Regions from separate parts of the Homo sapiens genome. Here region 2 is linked to region 1. The links are contacts of gene promoters, found by promoter capture Hi-C in blood cells and fetal thymus (Javierre and others, 2016). All regions are on one chromosome and are shown on one strand. The core of a region is centred on a gene start or on the middle of the fragment in contact, and the rest is flanking DNA. Distances in the headings are between cores, read along the strand shown. Region 1 has its middle 25 kb from the start of SCGB1D1. Region 2 holds the start of DAGLA (diacylglycerol lipase alpha).

Region 1 (5,463 bases), core at 1,890-4,389:
TATGTAACAAAACTGCACATTCTGCACCTGTACCTCAGAATTTAAAGTATAATAAGTAAATAAATAAATAAGAAAACAGGAGAAAATCCTAGTGTCTTTGTGTTTGGCACAGGTTTTTTACATATGACACCAAAAGTGTGAACTATAAAAGCAAAAGTCAATTGGACTTCATCAAAATTAGAAACTTTTGCTCTTTAAAAGTTACTGTTACTCAGCATCTTTCATTCTGCCCCGGGGTGGGATGGTACAAATAGCCCATCCTGCCGTATTCTCAGGAATAGAACGGGGCTTGATCCTCACCACTTGGTTAGGATGAAGATGAGAAAACCTGGGATTATCCAGGCTTTCTTGCTTCAGTAGGACCCATTTATGGATGCTAACCCCACCCTTCACTGTAGCCCACCCCGTTGCATGCCTGGCACATTTCCTCTTGTCAAGTACCTGCTAGCTACCTGCCATGTGAGGCTTTTCCTGTCTCCCTTAAGTAAACTAAGCCACAGCTTTTTTCTGGCTCCATCTGGGCTTTTCACAGCACATGCCTAGTCCACGTGTTGCAGTGGGATCTGGGGCCTTGAACTGTGGGTACCACTTGCTACTGAGCAACTGTGGCTGCTGGCTGAGTTCTGCGGGGGCAAGACCCATAGCAGCCTTTCTTCCCTCTGGGCTTCCATGGTGCAAACATTCCTCCAGGTTTAAGAAAGAAGAAAGAGCAGGCATGAGAAGGAAAGTGGGCTGTAACCTGTATTCCAAGGGATTGCAAACAATGCAGATCGCAGGTTATTCTCCTATCTGAACCTCTTGGAGCTTGATTCTGAGGCTTCCTTGGACATCTATAGAAACCTGGGTAGCAGCACTCAGAGCTAAGCTGAGTTACCTGATGCCTGAAGCACCTGCTCTGTACTCCTTACAGTGCTCACTGCTCTGAGCCAGCAAAGTAGAAAGTAACTTACATGGCCAACCCCAACCACATCCCCACTCCTGTCCAGTAATTTTGAATGTTCTCAACCAAAGAGATCTACCCTGCATGCTGGAAGGAGGAAGTAAACTACAGCTTGCAAAGGGGAGTTCTTTTTTGTTTTTGTTTTTTTCCTTTCTGAGACAGAGTTTCACTCTTGTTGCCCAGACTGGAGTGCAATGGTGCAATCTCAGCTCACTGCAACCTCCGCCTCCCGAGTTCAAGTGATTTTCCTGTCTCAGCCTCCCTAGTAGCTGGGATTACAGGCACATACCACCATGCCTGGATAATTTTGTATTTTTAGTAGAGATGGGGTTTCACCATGTTGGCCTGACTGGTCTCGAACTCGCGACCTCAGGTGATCCACCCACCTCGGACTCCCAAAGTGCTGGGATTACAGGTGTGAGCCACCACACCCGGCCAGGGGGGCTTTTAAAGTGCCTTTTAAGTAGTCATTCCTTTGTGGGGGTATTTGCTTTTATTGCAGTTTATTAAGCCTGAAACAGCTGACATGAAGATGGATACTTTGACTCAGGTTTGGTTGCCTGATCCATGAAGCTTTAATCTTACTTGCCCACAGATACACACACACATACCCCTACCTGTATTAATTTGCACTTTAAATATGCCCATTCCTCTGCTATTATGATATAGGAAAGTTGATAGTATCAGATTAATTTCAGGTGAACTATTCTACCTATAAAAGAATAGGAGCTAATAGGAGCTCCTATAAAAGAACAGGAGCTAATAACCCATGAAAGCTATGACGGTTTTTTTTTTTTTTGGATCTCTATTCTTCCTGCCAGCTCTGCCCCTGGCCTGGCAGGATTGGTTGAGTGGGGAATTGGTCCTTGAGAATTGGAGTAAGGGATCTTGAGGAATGTGTTTAGTGTCTTTGAGTTGTGATTTGAGAATAACAGAGGCAGGAGCCCTCTGCAGGGCTCCTGTCCTACTTGCCCCTGGGACACTGTAATAAGACAAGTATGGATTATGCCCAGTGAGGACTCCTATAACTAATTATTTAACTCAGAAAGTGCCCCAGAGGTGCTGGGGGTGCAGCAGAAAGGACTGGAGGGGTGCAGCCACTACTGCGGGAATGGTAGGGAAAGGGGCTAGGGGCTAGGGGCTAGAGGCCTTCTGCCCCAGTTATCTTATGTGGTGTTTTTTGTTTTGTTTTGTTTTGTTTTGTTTTGTTAGTTTGTTTGTTTGTTTTTTGAGAAGGAGTCTCGCTCTGTCACCCAGGCTGGAGTGCAGTGGCATGATCTCGGCTCACTGCAACCTCTGCCTCCTGAGTTCAAGCTATTCTCCTGCCTCAGCCTCCCGAGTAGCTGGGCTTACAGGCATCCGCCACCATGCCTGGCTAATTTTTGTGTTTTCAGTAGAGATGGGGTTTCTCCATGTTTGTCGGCCAGGCTGGTCTCGAACTCCTGACCTCAGGTGATCTACCTACCCTCCGCCTCCCAAAGTGCTGGGATTACAGGCTTGAGTGACTGCACCTGGCCCAAGTTATCTTACAGTGTCATTGTTTGCATGTTTGTGATGGCCCTAGACTTAACAGATAGAGAGCAGGCTCTATGGCTTAGAGAAAGACAGAAAACAGACAGTGATTGATTTAGGGTATGTAGGTAATGTGTAAGCCCAGGGCAGTGATGGTGGCTTCATCTGGTCAGAATTTCATCAAAGACACCTCTCGGGGCTAAAAAAGACCAGACTTTTTTTTTCTTTTTTCTTTTTTTTTGCTACTTGGGCAACACTGGCTTGATCTAGGTGACCTCTACGTTCCCTAGATGGACAACTTGTGTGGCCCCCAAACCTCTCCGTCTTACCCCAGTACCCCTTATTATCCTCAGCTACCATGCCACTCTCTTCAATCCCAGCAACCAGTCCTCACCTACTTCTGTAGGAGACCTCCACAGGGAGGAGCCTTACCATGAAGGTGATTGCAGTGTTTTTAATGAAAGGGGCCAAGAAAATGTGGCAATGAGGTCCTGTTCCTACGAGCTCCACTCTCCGGATTGAGACAGTGACACTTGTGGGAGCAGGACCCACTGAGGCCCAGTCCGAGGGCTCAGGTGGGAGAGCATCCACTGTGGCACTGCCGCGCTCGGGACCAGGGGCTGCTGGCCTTCAACAGTTGTGTCTCACGTTCTACTGAAGCAGATTGAGGAGAGTGACTCGGGCAGAGAATGCAGGGTGTTCTCTGTCTCCCTCCAGTAGACTAAGGCGTGTTAGTCTACATGAGGTCAACATGCAGACTGCAATGCAGGGAATCCTCTCTCATTCCTCGGGTAGGAGGGCAGGGCTGGGAATTACAACAGGGACCTCCCCTAATTGTCCGCCACCTGCCTGGAGTCACTTAGCAAAAAATAAAAATAATAAAAATCTGTGTTTGGCCCTGATGTGGACTCTACAGCTCCTTTTGCCACTCCCTGTGTCAGGGCCAAGGAGATGGGGTTTGTTGTCCAGCTCTGTCTAACCACTTCCCGGGGAATAGTCTGGGAATATGGATGACAACCTTTAATCGCAAAGTGCCTACTGTGTGTGAGGCACTGGGCGAGTTGAGTTGCGTTGGCCATAACCTTCAATCGCATTTGCTGATTGAGGGGTGATATTATCTTCATCTTCATTTTAAGTCTCTGGAAAGTGACACTCAAAGAGTTAAAGCAACCTCAAGCCCAAGGTTGTGTGGAGTGTGCAGTCGGGCAGGAAGCTCCACTGGACTTCGAAGGTGTTGCTCTAAGGCAAGCCTGCTACGACGCATGTCAAGACATCAGAAATGTTAAGAGGCTTCCCTCCATTGCCTCTTGTTGGCCAAAAGCACCCAGACTTTTCTGATGCCAGTGGGGACTTCCCAGTCCTTGCCCTGGCAAAGTAGGGCCCTCTCCCAGACTGCTATTTCCCACCCGGGGTTTCTGGTCCCTGGCCGCAGGACGTGGGATCTGGTATCACTGATGGAGCTGTACAGATGACATGTCCCAGAAGTGCAGGGAATTGAAGTTCATGGGGTGAACTTTGGCCAATGGGAAACAGGAGGCAGGAGGGGTCTGGGCAGGTGAATTCTGCCAGCTTTGTCTCTGATGCTGGACCCCGGCATTGTTTCTCCTTGCCGCCTATGTGGAGAAATCCCACCTGCTGAGCAAACGACTGTGTCTCTTGATGCCTAGGTGTAAAATAACCATCACTTCACATTTTCTTCATATCTGTCCTGTCTCACTTCCCTTTTGTCAGGTTCCTGTGAGGCCAGGGGAGATCTGGTGGGACAGGGAGAACAGCAGGGGTACACAGGGTCCTGGGGTTTGGCAGAGAAAGGGAGTGGCCAAAGGAGCTGTAGAGTACGTGAGGGTCAAACACAGAGTTGTATTATTTTTACTTTTTGCTAAGCACCTCTAGGCAGCTGGGGGACTTTCGGGGCTCTGTAACTTTGGATATTGGGAACTTTACTGGTCAGGCCCTAATGACCAGATTCTCATACCTGAGCTGCACATTGATAAGGCACAGTGAAGTGGATATCCCGCCCTTTGGGCCTCCAGGCCAGTTCCTCTTGGGAACTGCCCAGGACTCTCGTTCTGCCCAGGACTGAGCCCTGACTCAGGATGTCACTGTTAGAGAGAAGGGCAGAGAGGGGCTCACTACCGTTGACTGTTGCTGTTTTCTGCTTAGCTGGCTGGATATCCACCTCCTCTTTGAACTTCTTCAGACCCTCAAAATCAGCACCCTTGAAATCAGGGTCCTTGAAATCAGGAGTCTCAACACTGGGAGAGGACCCAAAAGGACCAGTAGCAGCTGGGAAGTCAGCTCTGGAGCCCTCAAAGAAGCTTTGCTTGACTCAACTACCTTTTTGCACATGGAGGTGGGAAGAAAAGAGTTAGGCACATTTATCATGATGGGGGAATGGCCATTGTGCCTTGTCCAGGGAACAATGCACACAGAGCATGAGCCCACCTGTGCAGCAAGATGCTGATATCCAGGTATCTGTGTCTGGATGGATGGGAAAAGACTTGACCCCATGAGCCCAGCAAGTTAACACTGGTTGTATATGGGTGACTTCTATGGGCTTTTCTTTATTTCCCCAAATTTATTTTATTTATTTATTTAGAGACAGGGTTTCACTTCAGTTGCCCAGGCGGGAATGCAGGGGCATGATCACGGCTCGTTGTGGCCTCAACCTCCCAGGCTCAAGCAATCTTCCTGCCTCATTTTTTTGATTTTTTGTAGAGATGAGGTCTCACTATGTCACTGAGGCTGGTCTCCAACCCCTGGGCTCAAGTGATCCCCCTGCCTCAGCTTCCCAAAGTGCTGGGATTACAGGCATGAGCCATTGCACCCAACCCTGTATTTCCCAAAATTTCTAAAGAATGGCGGGCACAGTTTGAGACCAGCCTGAGTGACATAACAAGACCCTGTCTGTATTTATTAAAACAAACAAAATAATAAAGTCTCCAAGACACACAGGCTTGCCTAATAACTTTAATTTGTTTGGAAAAGCCCTGCCCTCTAAGTGAAAAGCT
Region 2 (5,463 bases), core at 935-3,434, 490 kb before region 1:
AAATAATAGTAGCCTCATGACATCAAGTGTGAAGGTGACTGTTGGTACTTGTCTGGTGAAGACAACTTTGGAGGAATGGGAAGAAGGACTGGCGTGTGTCGGGACACATGTGTGCACATGGACACATGTGAGTTTGTGTACATGGGACAGCTAAGGGATGGATCCGTAGTAGACAGCCTTTTTTTTTTTTTTTTTTTGAGATGGAGTCTGGCTCTCTTGCCCAGGCTAGAGTGCAATGGCACGATCTCGGCTCACTGCAACCTCTGCCTCCCACGTTCAAGTGATTCTTCCGCCTCAGCCTCCCGAGTAGCTGGGATTACAGGCACCTGCCATCATGCCAGGCTAATTTTTGTACTTTGGTAGAGATAGGGTTTCACCATGTTGGCCAGACTGGTCTCGAACTCCTGACCTCAGGTGATCCACCTGCCTCTGCCTCCCAAAGTGCTGGGATTACAGGCATGAGCCACCGCCCCTGGCCGACAGTCTTTGGACTGGCTGTTCAGGTCATGATTCTCCTCCTCTGGGAGTGTCTCTCAACGGGGAAAAGTGGACTGACATGTTTGTATCACAAAGCACTTTCTGCCCTGGCCATAGCTGATTGACCGTGGCCTGATCTGGACTAATAAGATTCTTTTTTTCTGGGAATCGGGAACTTTGAACCAAGAGACATCCAATCTGGCAGTTTTGATTCTGATTAATGGCAATGATCTAGAAAGAAGATCCCTAAACTGATACTGCTACAGTTGTCCCTTAAAGCCTCCCCTGATCTCTGCCCTTCCTGAGCCTTGAGGAATTCAACTCCTCCTTGAATCCCCTGAGGTGCCCCACTGGGTATATGCGCCCACTCCTCATTTTCCTTGTTACCTACGTGAGTTTGCTTTCTAAATAATCACAGGTAACACAGAACTCCTTCCAGAAGTGGCTCCATCTGCTTCAATAAAAGGCAGTCCTGGCCTCACAGTCTCATTTCCAACCCAAATGTCCACGTAATTTTCAGACCGAGGCTTCTGCTCAAGCCGGGCACCCCACTACCCACACCTCCTTGTTCACCTATGGCTCCCACTTCTACTGAACTGCGCGATCACTGTGATTTTGGGGGTGGCAACAGGGCCTAGGAAACATTTTAGAGGCACTTCTCTTGCCTGAAAGAAAACGTTCTTCCCCTTTTTGTCTCTGATGAATCTTTACTGGATCTTTGGGACCCAGCTGAGTCATCCCGACCTGCAGACTGGACTCCCATCCCCAGGCTTAAATTCCTTTCCAAGGGCTCTGTCTGTCCTCTCGGCTTAGCTTCTGTGTTAAAACCCCCTCCATCTGCGTCTCCTCCCCAGCAGAATGAGCTCCTTGAAGTCAGGGCCCGCCTTCTGCTCCTCTCTGTGCTCCACTCCCCCAGTTCAGCACAGTGCTCCCAGGGAGGTGTAAGCGACTTACGGTGAATGAAAGGGCGTGAAGGGGAACAGGAGGGGCGGTTTTCTTCATTTACCAGAAATTCAAAATTGACCAAGTAAACCCCTTTGGAGACCAGGCACGATGCTGGGCACTGGGAACGGGGGTAGGGGTGGGGGGTGGGGGGGTGGTAGGGAGGAGGGGGTACCCAGGGTACCCACGGGCTCTGTCGCCCGTGGGGAAGGATGGGCATTTACCCTTCCCATTCATCAGGATGGGAGGGCCACGGACTCCCCCCACGGCAGTGCCGGGTAGACCCCTGCACCACACCGTGCCAAGGCCCTTTCTCACAGTCACGCCAGGAACTCTAGCCATGCTCTGACTTCTCAAGCAGAGTTCAGTCACCCCGAGGAGGTGGGACCCGTCTCTCTCCTCCCCACAAATGAACCAGTTCTCCAGTGATCCTACTTCCTTTTTTCCCTCTCCCACGCTAAAACTGGTCACGAGGGACCTAAAGGAGGGGCAGGCACCCAGGCGGCTCCCTTCCCCGCACGCATCGCGGCCAGTCCAGCCCCTCCCGGCCGCCCACGGGACCCCAGCCGAGCCTGAGCCAGGCGCCCACCGCCCCCACGCGCAGGGCCGGCGCCCGCGGAAGACTCGGCTCTCCCTGGCCTCGACGCCGCTCCCCTCCCTGGCGCCAGGGGGCGCTGCCTCCCCACGACCGTCGCCATGGTCACCGCTGGCGGCGGAGAGGGGTTTACGTAAAGGACGCAGCGTCCCCCGGGGGGCGGAGGCGGCCTTCGCGCCGGCGCCGGCGCCCTGCGGAAGCGGCGTTAGTGAATCGGGGCCTTGGGGAGCCCAGGATGGAGGTGGCGGTCGCGGCGGCGGGCCGAGCCCTGCGGCGGGCGGGAGGTAAGGGGGGCCTCCGGCGCGGCGGGCCGGTCCTGGGCGCGGGCGCGGTGCGAGCGGCGCGGCGGGCTGGGCAGTGTCCAGGGCGCGCGGTGGCCGGCCCGACGGGTCGGCGGGCGGAGTTGCAGCTGCCACGCGCGCCCGTGGCAGGTGTGAGGTCTGTGGAGCCCCTGGCACCAGCGTGGGGATGGTGACACGCGTGGCACGGGCGTGGGCAACGTGGGTCCGGCACAGGCGGCGTGGTTTTCCTGGAACGGGTCTCAGAAGACTCGCCTCCACCTTGGTGCGGTGGTGGCCACGCAGGTGTGAGGTGGTGCAGCTGTCTGCACAGGTAGGTGATGGGCACGGCCTTCGGACTGGTTATGGGATAGGTGGCCAGCTCGTGCCGGCATGGTGGTGCCGCTAGCATGGGTGTGAGGAAGTGCTGCCATTGCTTGGGTGTTGGGATGGTTCTGGCCTTGGGCTTGACATGATCTGGGGTGATAGCACTGGGGGCTTGAAGAATTGGTGTTCTCAGCATGGCTAGAGTTCCTGGCATGACTGTGAGAAAGGGCCTTGGCACGGTGTGGTGCGGGGGGCTACCCGGCACTGCCGCGGGGGGAGTCCGTGGCCCTCCCATCCTGATGAATGGGAAGGGTAAATGCCCATCCTTCCTCACGGGCGATGAAGGGGACACTGCCTCTGTCATGGGGGTCCAGTTTTAATGCCTGTTGGGTACACTGGACTGAGGAGGGCAGAAGGCTGGGAGAAGGTTGGTGTCCTTTATAATGGGCATAAACAAGAGATGCCAGGAGAAGCTTCTACCACAAGGGCCCTGATGGTAACCCAGATAGAGACCTTCCAGGCACTACCGTTGTCCTGGGCTAAGGTAGAGAGAACCATTCATCTAGCTTTTCATCTAGCTTTGGGAATGAAGGGAGGGGTGGATGATTTTCAGTGGTGATCGGTGTCCCAGAATATGTCCTGAGAAGCAAGCAGGACCAAGAGGTAACCCGGGTCAGCGAGTGAGGGAGTGGTATGGCGCACCATCTATCTGTAGTCACGGGGTCCTGCCTTCTCCCTGGGTTGATGGGTTCACTCCAGGGTATCTGGGAGTTGCCTCTCTTCTTTGATGCTGGGGAGCCTTTGGGTCCAGAGGATTGGATCGATTGGGGTATGCTTGAAAGATGATTCTGCAGCCACTGGGAATCTGCTGGGGCCACCGGGACTCCCACCCCCAGGCTTAAATTCCTTTCCAAGGGCTCTGTCTGTCCTCTCTGCTTAGCTCCTATGTTAAAACCCCTCCATCTGCGCTGAGATTGTGTTTGCTCTCACCAGTCCTTTGGGAAGCTTTGGGTGAAGGTCTCACTCAGCATCACCTAGTGCCTTACTTTACAGAGAAGCAATTTGCAGCTCCTCCTAGAGAAGTCTTACAGTGTAGGGGAAATCTTCAGTTCTTTGTGGATCTCTTGGGGGAGTGGGATCAGTGGTAGAAGAATCACAGGGTTGAGCTTGTGCTGGGGAAGGCACTTATGAGTCCAAAAAGATGATGTTGAGGGTAGGGTGGCAGGTGGTCGCCAAATTGCCAAGGTGGGTGCTTGGAGATGCTGATGAGTTCCCTATAACCGGAGCACTGTCCGATGCCTTTGGAGCCATATCACTTTAATTCCAGTGTTGGCTGTGTGACCTTCAGCAGGTGACTTCACCAATCAAGGCATGTCACATGGTGGTCTGGTAGTAAAGAATGAAAGGAAATGGTGCACGTGGAAACACTTTGCAAACAGCGAAAGACTGTACAAAGGTCAGAGAGTCTCATCAAGTAAAGAGACCAGGGCTGGAGGCAGGAGCCATAGGAAATGGTGGCACGGGATGTGATTGGGAGGAAGGGAGCCGGAAGGTTGAGGGCCTGTCATAGGGAATTAGAGGCCCTGAGCGCACATGCTCCCGGTGGGGGCAAGTGGGATCTGTTGACACTGTGAGTCAGCTGCTGAGCTGGAACCAGGCCCCCGGTCTCCAGAGGACAGTCCTGAGCATGGCCCCGGCAGCTGTGAAGTCCTGCAGGAGTGGCCCAAGCAGGAGGAAGCACTTTGCTTGGGCAGCAGACGTGCCTCATTGCCAGGGTAGGTCTGGGAGGTGTCTGTGGCTGACAGATCTAGGGTACCTGTGTGGGAGGAAGACTTGGGAAGTGTGTGTGTTTTCTCTGGAGAATTTCCTTTGGCTCTGGGTTCTGAGAACGGGGGTGGGGAGCAGTCACATCAGCGTCTTTTGGGCTGTGGCCTGAAGGAAATGAAGTGGGTCAGAGCATCCACAGATCGATGTGGCTCAGGTCTGGATGGTTCTGCGGGAGGTTGAGGCTGGATGGCAGGGGGACGGGGGGGGGAGGTGTGGAGGATGCCCTCAGACACATAGGGGAAAGGAAAGGGGGCTACAGGCACCTCTGAGGGCAGACAGGTGTGGCACCTCTCCCAATGTGGCCCCACTTCTGGCTGAAGTGCCTTCCCAGGTGGGGAGGATGAGGGTGGCTGCACAGTGCTTTGCTCTCTGCCACCAGGAGCCTAATTCCCGACAACAAGCTGCAGAGCCTGAGTTGCAGACCCTGCCCCATGGCGCTGGAAGTCCTGTTTTTCTCTCACCCAGGCCGTTTCTTCAGCATTCCATGCGGGTGTCTGCCTTAGCCAGCAACCTGTTTCACATCCTTGCTCCCCGAGGAAAGTTTTTGCCCTGTGCCCAGGCTGCAGTGTCAAGCCATGTGGGTGGAAGGAGGACACGGCCCTCCCAGACCCAGGGTTGTGAGCTGACTTTTCCATGCTATGGACTCGCCCTGTCCCCGTAGCTGCCACGCAGACACTGTCCAGCATTGCAGGTGCTTCCCTGGTCATTCCCATGTTGGTCTGAGGGGTATCCATGGCCTGTCTCACCCGCTCCCTGCAGTGCTTCATACCTCCCCCGAGGAGTTGCTGGGCACTTCAGCTCATGTCTGGAAAGCTCTCTTAAGTGCAGAGTCCATTAAGGAGGAAGCCTACAGCCTCCCTGTTGTGAATATTCAGTATTCAAGTCTCCTCAGCTCACCCTCCACACCTCCTCCTGTTTGTTCTGATTTGTGGCTCAGCCTTATGGTTTGGGGCTCCAGGAGCCCTTTTCAGCCACCCTTTGCCTTCTGCTTGGGATGCTGGGACTGCCCACCAGAGC

Evidence for each region. Contacts are between HindIII fragments. The CHiCAGO score rates a contact against its expected background, and 5 or more counts as called.
Region 2: the fragment with the promoter of DAGLA here is called in contact with a fragment that was not itself captured in region 1 in 1 of 17 cell types (neutrophils); the score reaches 5.9 in neutrophils.

Annotation. Positions count from the first base shown.
Region 1 is chr11:62,162,862-62,168,324 of GRCh38, forward strand. No RefSeq gene overlaps it. Among named protein-coding and RNA genes, the nearest start is that of SCGB1D1, 25 kb to the right of the region's middle. The HindIII fragment of the contact is 3,257 bases long and covers 1,512-4,768 here.
Region 2 is chr11:61,678,207-61,683,669 of GRCh38, forward strand. It overlaps DAGLA (diacylglycerol lipase alpha), which reads left to right and starts at 2,185. Exons shown (of 20, transcript NM_006133.3): 1 at 2,185-2,298. RefSeq lists enhancers at 4,382-5,056, 5,057-5,463. The HindIII fragment of the contact is 3,213 bases long and covers 1-3,090 here.